Regions from separate parts of the Homo sapiens genome. Here region 1 is linked to region 2. Evidence: promoter capture Hi-C in human tissues and cell types (Jung and others, 2019). All regions are on one chromosome and are shown on one strand. The core of a region is centred on a gene start or on the middle of the fragment in contact, and the rest is flanking DNA. Distances in the headings are between cores, read along the strand shown. Region 1 holds the start of TNFRSF8 (TNF receptor superfamily member 8). Region 2 holds the start of VPS13D (vacuolar protein sorting 13 homolog D).

The links. The method cuts DNA at HindIII sites, captures the fragments that hold promoters and counts their contacts. A contact is called where the count stands out against the background at its distance.
Region 1: a contact is called between the fragment with the promoter of TNFRSF8 here and the fragment with the promoter of VPS13D in region 2, in 1 of the 25 tissues and cell types used here (stomach).

The regions. Positions count from the first base shown.
Region 1 is chr1:12,060,567-12,065,660 of GRCh38, forward strand. It overlaps TNFRSF8 (TNF receptor superfamily member 8), which reads left to right and starts at 2,737. Exons shown (of 15, transcript NM_001243.5): 1 at 2,737-3,095. The coding sequence starts at 3,033. RefSeq lists silencers at 2,180-2,412, 3,000-3,129. The HindIII fragment of the contact is 14,330 bases long and covers 1-5,094 here.
Region 2 is chr1:12,226,526-12,231,819 of GRCh38, forward strand. VPS13D (vacuolar protein sorting 13 homolog D) reads left to right here and starts at 3,505. Exons shown (of 70, transcript NM_015378.4): 1 at 3,505-3,595. RefSeq lists an enhancer at 3,254-4,184 and silencers at 3,330-3,859, 3,396-3,564. The HindIII fragment of the contact is 14,457 bases long and covers 1-5,294 here.

The DNA.
Region 1 (5,094 bases), core at 1,487-3,986, 170 kb before region 2:
GGTCCTCTGCCAAAACACACACCATACTTCCGCAAGGGTTCTCTACAGGGGAGTGTCTTGGTGAGATGTGTGTGCTAGAAAGGTCTCTTTGGAAATCCATGGAGGGAAGGATATGAGGGAGAGACAAGTTTCCACAACATCTATAGATTTATCCTTTTTAATGGATGTGCAATATTCCATTAAATGGATGTACCACAATTTCCGTAATCATTTCTTGTTGTGAATCTCAGAGTATTTCAAAAATTTATAAATAATATATAAGGAAATGTTACTGTATAGTTTTCTTTTTTCTTTTTCTAGTTTTCCAGTTAAATTATTTCCTTAGTTTTTCTTCACTGAGGTGAAATTACTGAGCCACTCACAAGTAGTACACATTTTTTTTTTTTTTTGGCTTTTGCTAAAAATTGCCATACTGCTTTCTGAAAAGGGTTGTAACATTTACCAGCAGAGTATGAATGAGTATTCTGGTCTCACCACAACTTTGGGGTTGGATTTACCAAAATTGTTTTTATAAAGCAAAAAAAAAAAAATGATGATTGTATAGATCTAAAAGGTTATCAAAGGTTGCTTGAATTTGCATTTCTTTAATTACTAAAAAGGTTAAACTTATAAAACTTGTAATTGATTTTTATTTGTATTTCTCCTTGTGCAAGCTATTTTGATGCTGTTGTTCATTTATTTATTCAAAACACCAGCCCTTCTCTCTCTCTCTTTTTTAATTAAACAAAAAATAGAGATGAGGTCTTGCTACGTTACCCGGGCTGGTCTCAAACTGGGCTCAAGTGATCCTCCAACCTCGGCCTCCCAAAGTGTTGGGATTACAGATATGAGCCATGTCACCCAGCTGCCAGCTTTTCTACTTTTGTAGTAGAAAGCTCTGGACTGGGAAGCAGGTGTCTTGCGTTCCTCCTGTCCCTGTCTGGTTCTGTCATTATCACAGGCAGGTCACTTCCATAATTGCTTACCTCATTGTTTAACATAGTCCCAGCTCAAACAGCCTAAGATACTGGGCCTGGTACATCCAGAGGAGAGTCTGGAAGTGGGTCTCTTGGGAAGGGGCATGATGGAGCAGTTTTCCCAAGTGGAGTCCAGCAGCCCCAGGAGGGTTGAGCATGGAGTGGTCAGTTGTGGAGACCTTGCTGGGAAGTTCCTGGTGGGAGGTTATCACTCCTACCCTATAGGGCCTTCACCTGATGGAGGCCTGGTACCTCGCAGGACAGATCAAGGTAGACACAGAAGCCAGAGTATCCTTAGGCTATTCTGGGCTCAGGGAAAATAACTGGCCCACCCTTAATTAGAGCACCTAGGACTGCCTGCCTATTTCTGAGCCTTGGCTTTCACATCTGAAAACCAAACAAAATCAGTCAAAAGAACCCTTGACCTGTGGCCCACCCAGCAGATGCTCAACACAGACACACGGAATGTGGAATAAAAGGAGCAAAGAGAAAACCCAGGGGATGGGGAAGCACTGGAAGGGAAAATCATTCACCAGCAAATGAGAACATAGTACGAGGAGGCTTGAATCATTTCTGTTAGGAGAGAGTGCCAGCCGCCTCCTCCAGGAAGAAAACTCTAAAGGGTCAGGCCTCAGGGAAATAAAATGATCTATACCATCCATCAGTTCCTCCAACATTCAGTCCATCCATCTACCAATCCACCCACCCATTTACCCACTCACCTGCTGCTCATCCATCCATCCATCCATCCACCTATGCATCCATCCATCCATCCATCTATGCATCCATCCATCCACCCATCCACCCACCCATTTACCCACTCACCTGCTGCTCACCCATCCATCCATCCATCCATCCATCCATCCATCCATCCATCCACTTATGCATCCATCCATCCACTTATGCATCCATCCATCCATCCATCCATCCATCCATCCATCCATCCACCTATGCATCCATCCATCCATCCATCCATCCATCCATCCATCCATCCATCCATCCACTTATGCATCCATCCATCCATCCATCCATCCATCCATCCACCTATGCATCCATCCATCCATCCATCTATGCATCCATCCATCCACCCATCCACCCACCCATTTACCCACTCACCTGCTGCTCACCCATCCATCCATCCATCCATCCATCCACTTATGCATCCATCCATCCATCCATCCATCCATCCACTTATGCATCCATCCATCCATCCATCCATCCATCCATCCATCCATCCATCCACCTATGCATCCATCCATCCATCCATCCATCCATCCATCCATCCATCCATCCACTTATGCATCCATCCATCCATCCATCCATCCATCCATCCATCCATCCATCCACCTATGCATCCATCCATCCATCCATCCATCCACCAATTTATCATCCACTCACTGATTCATTTTACAGCAAATGCTTATGAATGGGGATGGGTGGGTGATGGTTGCTTTTTCTGCAGTCTCCCTAGGCCAGTTGTCCCTTCCAAAGAATCTCAAGGGCATGGGAGAAGGTCCTGGCTGATCGTGTCAGGGACAGGAAACTACTCACATTTCACCGTTTCTTGGGGCAGGAGTGGAGGTGGGGGCATTGGAACCCCCTTGGGGCCTCCTAATATCCTGTGAGTCCCCACCTCCAGGGCCAGAAGCTGCCTGCCTCCGCTCCCCGCAGCCCAGGTGCGGCGGGCAGCACACTCCCTAGAGCCAGGACCACTAGTTCCGTCAAATCCGGGGCGGGCCATTCAAACAGCTAAGGGAGGCGTCTCCTAGTGTGCCTTTTCCTGAGTCATCTCTGCACGTGTTTGCCCCCTTTTTTCTTCGCTGCTTGTAGCTAAGTGTTCCTGGAACCAATTTGATACGGGAGAACTAAGGCTGAAACCTCGGAGGAACAACCACTTTTGAAGTGACTTCGCGGCGTGCGTTGGGTGCGGACTAGGTGGCCGCGGCGGGAGTGTGCTGGAGCCTGAAGTCCACGCGCGCGGCTGAGAACCGCCGGGACCGCACGTGGGCGCCGCGCGCTTCCCCCGCTTCCCAGGTGGGCGCCGGCCGCCAGGCCACCTCACGTCCGGCCCCGGGGATGCGCGTCCTCCTCGCCGCGCTGGGACTGCTGTTCCTGGGGGCGCTACGAGCCTTCCCACAGGTAAGCGGGTGACGGGCGCCTGGGGAGGTGCCGGCGGTCCAGAGCCCGGACAGTGTGGGGTGCGTGGGACGCAAGGGAGGACACTCCTCACCCCGTTCCCTGCCCAGCTGGAGTGAGGGGGCGCGGGTGACAAGCAGGAACACCGGAATATGCTAGCACCCACAGGTGGGAGGCTGGCTGAAGGGCTAGTGGTGGGGGGCGCCTCCTTCTCACCCCGCGATGGCTGGGACTGATTCATTCATTCAGTGTGAATTGGACTGAGAGCACTGCCATACGCGGGAGGCGCTCTTTAGCCCGCCTACCTGCGGGCCCGTCGGGGTCCTGGGCAGATCAGGTGAGGCCGTGGGAGTAGTGGGCAGGCCAGATGGGGCCTCCCTTAGCCATGGGAGGTTGGTCGTCCGCGCTCTACCCTGTTGTGTGCGCGGTCCCGTTTGCCCCCTTCCTAAGCTGGCCACTGGCTGGAGGGTCAAGGAAAGGAGGGAGAGTTGGCTGTGGGTGAGAGTGGGGTGAGGGTGCAGGACCACCGGGATTAGCTTCCCCAATCCGCGTCCGGCAAAGCAACGCTGTGGATTGAATTCGCTGGAGCACGTGGTGGGCATTTGCCCCTGGAAGAAGGTCAGTGGTGGGGCTGAAGTCTATGGTGGGTTGCCTCAGAATTGAGTTTGGGGACTGCTTTAGGAAAACTGAGCACTTACCAGTGGCCAGCGCCAAATTAATCACTGTGGGGAGAATGCAAAGTAACCAGGCGTGTTTCACGGAGCCCAGGGGCTGCTGGAGAGAGAGGCCCTCAGCTGACCCAGGACCCCGGTGGACCCCTGCATAGAACCATAGTAGGTGCGAGTGGATGCCTGCTGAATGATACAGAGGGAAAGGAAGGAGCAGGCTGTTAGTCCAGCGGTGGGTCACGGTGGGGGAGAGGGAAGACCCAGTTCCCCTTTAATCCTACAGGAAGAGAGGACTCCATGCTATGGATCAATTCTAGTCATCTGAACCTTAGGCAGTGGGAGGAGAGTGGCAGAGTGGGCTTTAGGCAGGAGGGAGGAACTATGCAGCAAAGGAGGAACTATGCCCTCTTCCATTTCCAATGGGCAATGTGAGGTATTCCCCCTTTCCCCCCAAGAGGGCAGAGGGGACAAAGCCCTGGCTAGAGACACCCTGTCCCAGCTCTGCAAGCCCTCACCTGGGGGAAGGTAAGAGTTTGGAGTGCCAAGGTCTTGGGGAGATGAAGGGAAGGAAGAGATGTGAGAGGTGCTTGGGGGGCTTTGCTGGTTTGGTTTGGCAGCTGAAGCTCATGTGCTTCCTTTCTGTAGAGTGAAGCCCCCTCCACTTTTTTTAATGTTAGAGACAGGGTCTCACTCTGTTGTCCAGGCTGGAGTGCGATCATAACTCACTACAGCCTGAACTCTCATACCAAACCTTTTTTTTTTTTTTTTTTTTTTGAGACTGAGTCTCACTCTTGTTGCCCATGCTGGAGTGCAATGCTCGATCTCGGCTCACTGCAACCTCTGCCTCCCGGATTCAAGTGATTCTCCTGCCTCAGCCTCCCAGGTAGCTGGGATTACAGGCATGTGCCACCACACCCGGCTAATTTTTGTATTTTTAGTAAAGATGAGGTTTCACCATGTTGGTCAGTCTGGTCTCGAACTCCTGACCTCAAGTGATCCTTCCGTCTCGGCCTCCCAAAGTGCTAGGGTTACAGGCATGAGCCACCACACCCAGCCTCCCATACCCTTTTTAAAATAAAAATACTATATATTTAATTGCACAAGGAATATATAAATATATTCTCAAAGCAAAACTGTAAACGCTACAGATAAAGCCAAGTCTTTTGACACCGCCTCATCCTGATCCCTTCAAAGATATAACCACCATAATTGATTTGGTGTGTTTCCTTTGCAGACCTTTATAAATGCATGTCCATATTTATATTGTTTTAATAGACATATATATAGTTTTCCATATACTATACCCTACAGTACATATGGTTCTTCATTTGGCT
Region 2 (5,294 bases), core at 2,255-4,754:
AAAAATACAAAAAAAATTAGCCGGGCATGGTAGCGGGCGCCTGTAGTCCCAGCTACCCGGGAGGCTGAGGCAGGAGAATGGCGTGAACCCGGGAGGCGGAGCTTGCAGTGAGCCAAGACAGCGCCACTGCAGTCCAGCCTGGGCGAAAGAGCGAGACTCCGTCTCAAAAAAAAAAAAAAAGTTTTCATCCAAAAAAGTATGTTAGCTGATGGATTTGTTCATTAGTGTGAATTAATCATTCCACATTGTAAATAGATATCAAAACAGTGCACTGTAGCCCATAAATATATACAATTATTTGTCAATTAAATTTTTGAAAAAAGCTGTGAGCAGTGTCTCCTGCCTGTAATCCCAGCACTTCGGGAGGCCAAGGTGGGAGGAATGCTTGAGCTCAGGGGTTCAAGACCAGCCTGGACAACATGGCAAAACCCCATCTCTACTAAAAATACAAAAATTAGCCGGGCGTGGTGGTGCACGTCGGGAATCCCAGCTACTCGGGAGGCTGAGGCATGAGAATCACTTGAACCTGGGAGGCAGAGGCTGCAGTGAGCCGAGATTGTGCCACTGCACTCCAGCCTGGGCGACAGAGTAAGATTGTCTCAAACAAACAAACAAACAAACAAACAAAACCCCCCAAATCAGCTGGGTGTGGTAGTGCATCTGTAGCCTGTAGTTCCTCTGACAGTTTTGTCTTTTCTGGAATTTCACAGAAATGAAATCACTACGGTATGTGGTCTTTTTCCACATAGCTAATACTTTTGAGGTTCCTCCAGATCGTGCCTGCGTCAGCCCTACTCACCTTTTTGTTGGTGAGTAGTGCTCCATTGTATGACTATGTTGCAATTTGTTTGTCCACTCTCCTGTTGATGGACATTTTGATTGTTTTTTTTTGTTTCTGGCTTTTATGAATAAAGCTGCTATGAGTGTTCATGTATAAGTCTTGGTGTGGGCATATGTTTTAATTTCTCTTGGCTAATATCTAGCAGTGGGATTGCTGTATGGTAAATGTATATTTAAACATTTATAGGAAACTGGGGGCACGAAGACTTTCAGTAATACTGGTCGAATCAATGGTGCCCAGGAATTTGCATTTTTGAGACAGGGTCTCTGTTGCGCAGGTTGGAGTGCACAGGCATGATCATTGCTCACTGTAACCTTGAACTCATGGGCTCAAGCAATCCTCCTCCCAGTAGTTGGGAGTACAGGCATGTGCCACCGTGCCCAGCTAATTTTTTCATTTATAATTTTTTGTAGAGATTGGGGTCTCCTTATGTTGCACAGGCTGGTCTTGAATTCCTGGCCTCAAAAAATCCCCCCCACTGCCTTGGCCTCCCAAAGTGCTAGGATTACTGGTGTGAGCCACGGTGCCAGGCCATGTGCAGTATTTTTTTGGATTTTTTTTGAGATGGAGTCTTGCTCTGTTGCCGAGGCTGGAGTGCAATGGCGAGATCTCGGCTCACTGCAACCTCTGCCTCCTGGGTTCAAGCAATTCTCCTGCCTTAGCCAGGAGAGTAGCTGGGATTACAGGCACCTGTGACCATGCCCGGCTAATTTTTGTATTTTTAGTAGAGATGGGGTTTTGCCAAGTTGGTCAGGCTGGTCCTGAACTCCTGACCTCAGGTGATCCACCCACATCTGCCTCCCAAAGTGCTGAGATTACAGGCATGAGCCACCGCGCCTGGCCTGGGCCATGTGCATTTCTAACAAGCTTCCCAGGTACAGCCAATTGTCTGTGCTAGGTGATCTGGACTTCGAGGTCCTTCACCTCTGAAGGACTGCCTTCCTTCCTCCTTCTGTCTGTGGAGTTCCAGGTTTTACTCCCAAACCTCAGCCCCAGAGGAGACCCAGCATCCAGATTCTGAGAGGTTGATCCCACCATACAGGAACCCCAGTCTTGCTCAGGAGTGAGTCAGCCCAACATGCACCCTCATTAGCTTAGCATCATGAGGGTTGGTAATTATTATGGTAAATACATGATTGTAACCTTGCCGTTCTGCTTCCTGCATCTTCTAATTTATATGAGCCTGAGGTCTCCCTCTTGCCCTTCTTGTGATAATGCAAGGAGGAAGTGTTCAGCTGTTCATTCATACACACTCATTGAGTCTTTTCTGTGCTAGGCAATGTCTAGGTGTTGAAGAAACACTGTGAAAGGGATAAAATCTCTGTTTTCAAGGTACTGGGGAAAGAACAACATATGTATAAACAAACAAGATAATCTCAGGGAGTATTAGGTTCCATGAATAAAATACAACAGGGTAATGGATAATGGAACTTTATTTTTATTTTCATTTTTGAGAGGGAGTCTCACTCTGTCTGGAGTGCAGAGGGGTGATCTCGGCTGACTGCAACCTCCGCCTCCCGGGTTCAAGTGATTCTCCTGCCTCAGCTTCCCCAGTAGCTGGGACTACAGGTGTGCACTACCACGCCCGGCTAATTTTTGTAGTTTTAGTAGAGATGGGGTTTCACTATGTTGGCCAGGCTGGTCTCAAACTCCTGACTTCAGTGATCCGCCCGCCTCAGCCTCCTGAAGTGCTGGGATTACAGGCATGAGCCACTGTGCCCAGCTCATAATGGAACCGTAGATAGGCACAAGTCCTCTCTGAGTGGAATATTTGAAGCCAGAGGGAGTCAGCTATACGAATATCCAGAGCTATTCTGTAGCTCTGGATTGGCCACAAGAGGGTATTGAGCACTGGAATTCTGGCTAGTTTGTACTGAGATGCGCAGTAAATGTAAAATATACCCGAATTTCAAAAACTTACTATAAAAAAGTTAACATATTGTATTAGTAATTTTTTCTTTTGGCGACATGTTGAGATGATCATATTTTGAACATATTGGATTAAATATATTAAAATGAAGTTCATTTTCTTCTTTTTCGTTTAAAAAAAATGTACTAGCTAGTAAATGTGGATTGCCTATGTGGCTGGCATTGTGTTTCTATTGGTCTGAGGAGAAGGGTCCTAGGTAGAGACAACGGCAAAGGTACAGTTCCTGGGGCAGAAACTGAAGGATGCTGAGGCAGAGTCGGCCGGGGAAAAAGTGGCTGAAATGGGAAGGGACCAGATCCAGTGGGACCTTGGTGGCAGCTCTGTAAGGAGGTGGGTTTTAACTGAAGTACGGTGGGGACGCCGTTTTAAGCAGGGAAGGGCAGGGTCTGAATTAACAGGCCCCTGTGGCTGCGAAGTGGGGAACGGACTGTGGGTGAGTGGGCCAGACGGACGGCCAATCGCACCTTTCGCTTGGATGGAAGGCAGGGTGGTTGTAGGTGGGAAGAATCCTGGGTTCCCATGCTGTCTGAACCAGAGTCATTTGTGGCCCTGCCCTCCCCTGGGACTCAATTTCCCCACCTATAAAATAAGCCCCAGTGTCCGCGAACCCTGGAGGGGCCCGCACCACTGCAGGAGCGGCCGCCGGCGCCAGGGGGCGCCTCCTCGATAACTCGGCGCTCGGCTGGCCAGGCACCGGCGCGTCGGCCGCTCGATTGGTCGGGTCGGGGCCGGCCTGAGCGCCGCGGGCCTGCGCCATTGAGGAGCGGCGGGGAGGAAACGCCGCGCAGCGCCGGGCTGGGGCGGGCGGCCCGGGACACCGACAGGTAGGGGCCGAGCGGCTCCGTGCCGGGCGGGGCCAGGGTCGGGAACTGCAGGGCCGGCGCGGACCCGCGGGCCGCCGCTAGGGCTCCGCCTGGACATGGGGGCCCGGGCCCACCCTGGGGAGAGCGATGCTAGGAGCCTGGGGGCCCCGTCGTCCGGCCTCGGTCTGAGCCCCTCGGGGTAACCCTGGGCGTCTGCTCCCCCCGGGCCCCAAGCCCGCCACCTCCGGGGACCCCTGCGTCCGAGTCCCCGCGAGCTCCCCAAGCACAGGCTCGGGGCTGGCTGAACCTCTGGGAACCCCGACGTCCGTGTCCTGGGGAGCCCGAGCCCCCGCTGGACCCCGGCACACTTTCCGGGGTCCCAGCAGCCTGGCGCCCTGGAATTGGGGGGTGTCAGTCCGCGCCTGTCCGCCTGAGCCTTGGTCTCAATGCAGGACCCCAGTGTGCGAGCCCCCCACATTACGCCGAAGAGTGGGGTGTCAGTTCTCTAGAATGCCTTAGCCACCTCCCTTAATCAGCCACCCGAGGTCACACTCTCGCGTGGAGACATCAGGCCTAAAACCTCTCTTTACCTTTTGCCCCCCAGGGTCACGCCCTGGCCCAGCCACTCCTCCTAGGTGTGGGATGCCAGACATCAGGCCTAAAACCTCTCTTTACCTTTTACCCCCCAGGGTCACGCCCTGGCCCAGCCACTCCTCCTAGGTATGGGATCCCGGCGCCGTTCCCTCCAGGTTTTACTTGGGTGGTGGGGTCTCTGTCCCCTGGAGGGGGCTGAGGGTTCCGAGAGCTGGGGGCGGGAGGGTTGTGGGAGCGTCGCCTTCCGGGCAGTGCCGTTCCTGTGGGGCCACCGGTCGCACAGCCGTCCCCGCCCCGGTTTTGGAGCTCCCTGGCGCCGGCAGCGTTCAGCCCTGGCCGCCTCGGGGAGGGACGCCCAGGTCCGGTTGCCAGTCCTTCCTATTCCCGGTCTGGCCGCTCCTCAGGGGAGGGGCCTGGCTCAAGGTCATGCCCGGCTGTCTGCCCGCCCGTGGGCTCAGCACTGATCCCTACTGTCACCCGCCCCACTGGGTAGGGGAGCCCAGGTGGGGGTTAGTGCCAGTGCCAGGCAGCTGCCTAGAAGTCCTGATGGACCGGAGTGTAAACACTTTGGGACTCTGGCCAGTCTGGCGGCCCTTGCTGACACTGAATTCCTTCAGGGAATCCTTGAAGTGGCCTCAAGCACGGTCTAGATGCTTAGCAGAGCAAATAATGGGTGCTTTCTGGTTTGGGCCTCAATGTTACTGACCAGGTTGCCTCACAATGCTAATCACTCATGCTTTTAAAATCTGTGCTTTGCATTCTTTTCCGTTTAGGGCAAGTAGGGTAGGGCCTGAACTTGTTTACAAACTGACAGTTGTTTCCCTTGATTTGGAGATAATTGGTAATTGGCACTCAGAGTTGGCATTTAGGGCCGAAATTAGTGGCAATAACTACAAAAATAAAGAGTACTCTGACCTTGGCTTCTTGCTCAAATTTGTTTGGAGTCCCCATAGTAAGATTAGTCAGTTTCACATTTGGTTTTCACAAATTTACTCCTTTCAAGTTATAATAGTGGCCGGGCACGGTGGCTCACGCCTGTAATCCCAGCACTTTGGGAGGCCAAAGTGGGCAGATCGCTTAAGGTCAGGATTTCAGACCAGCCTGGCCAACATGATGAAACCCTGTC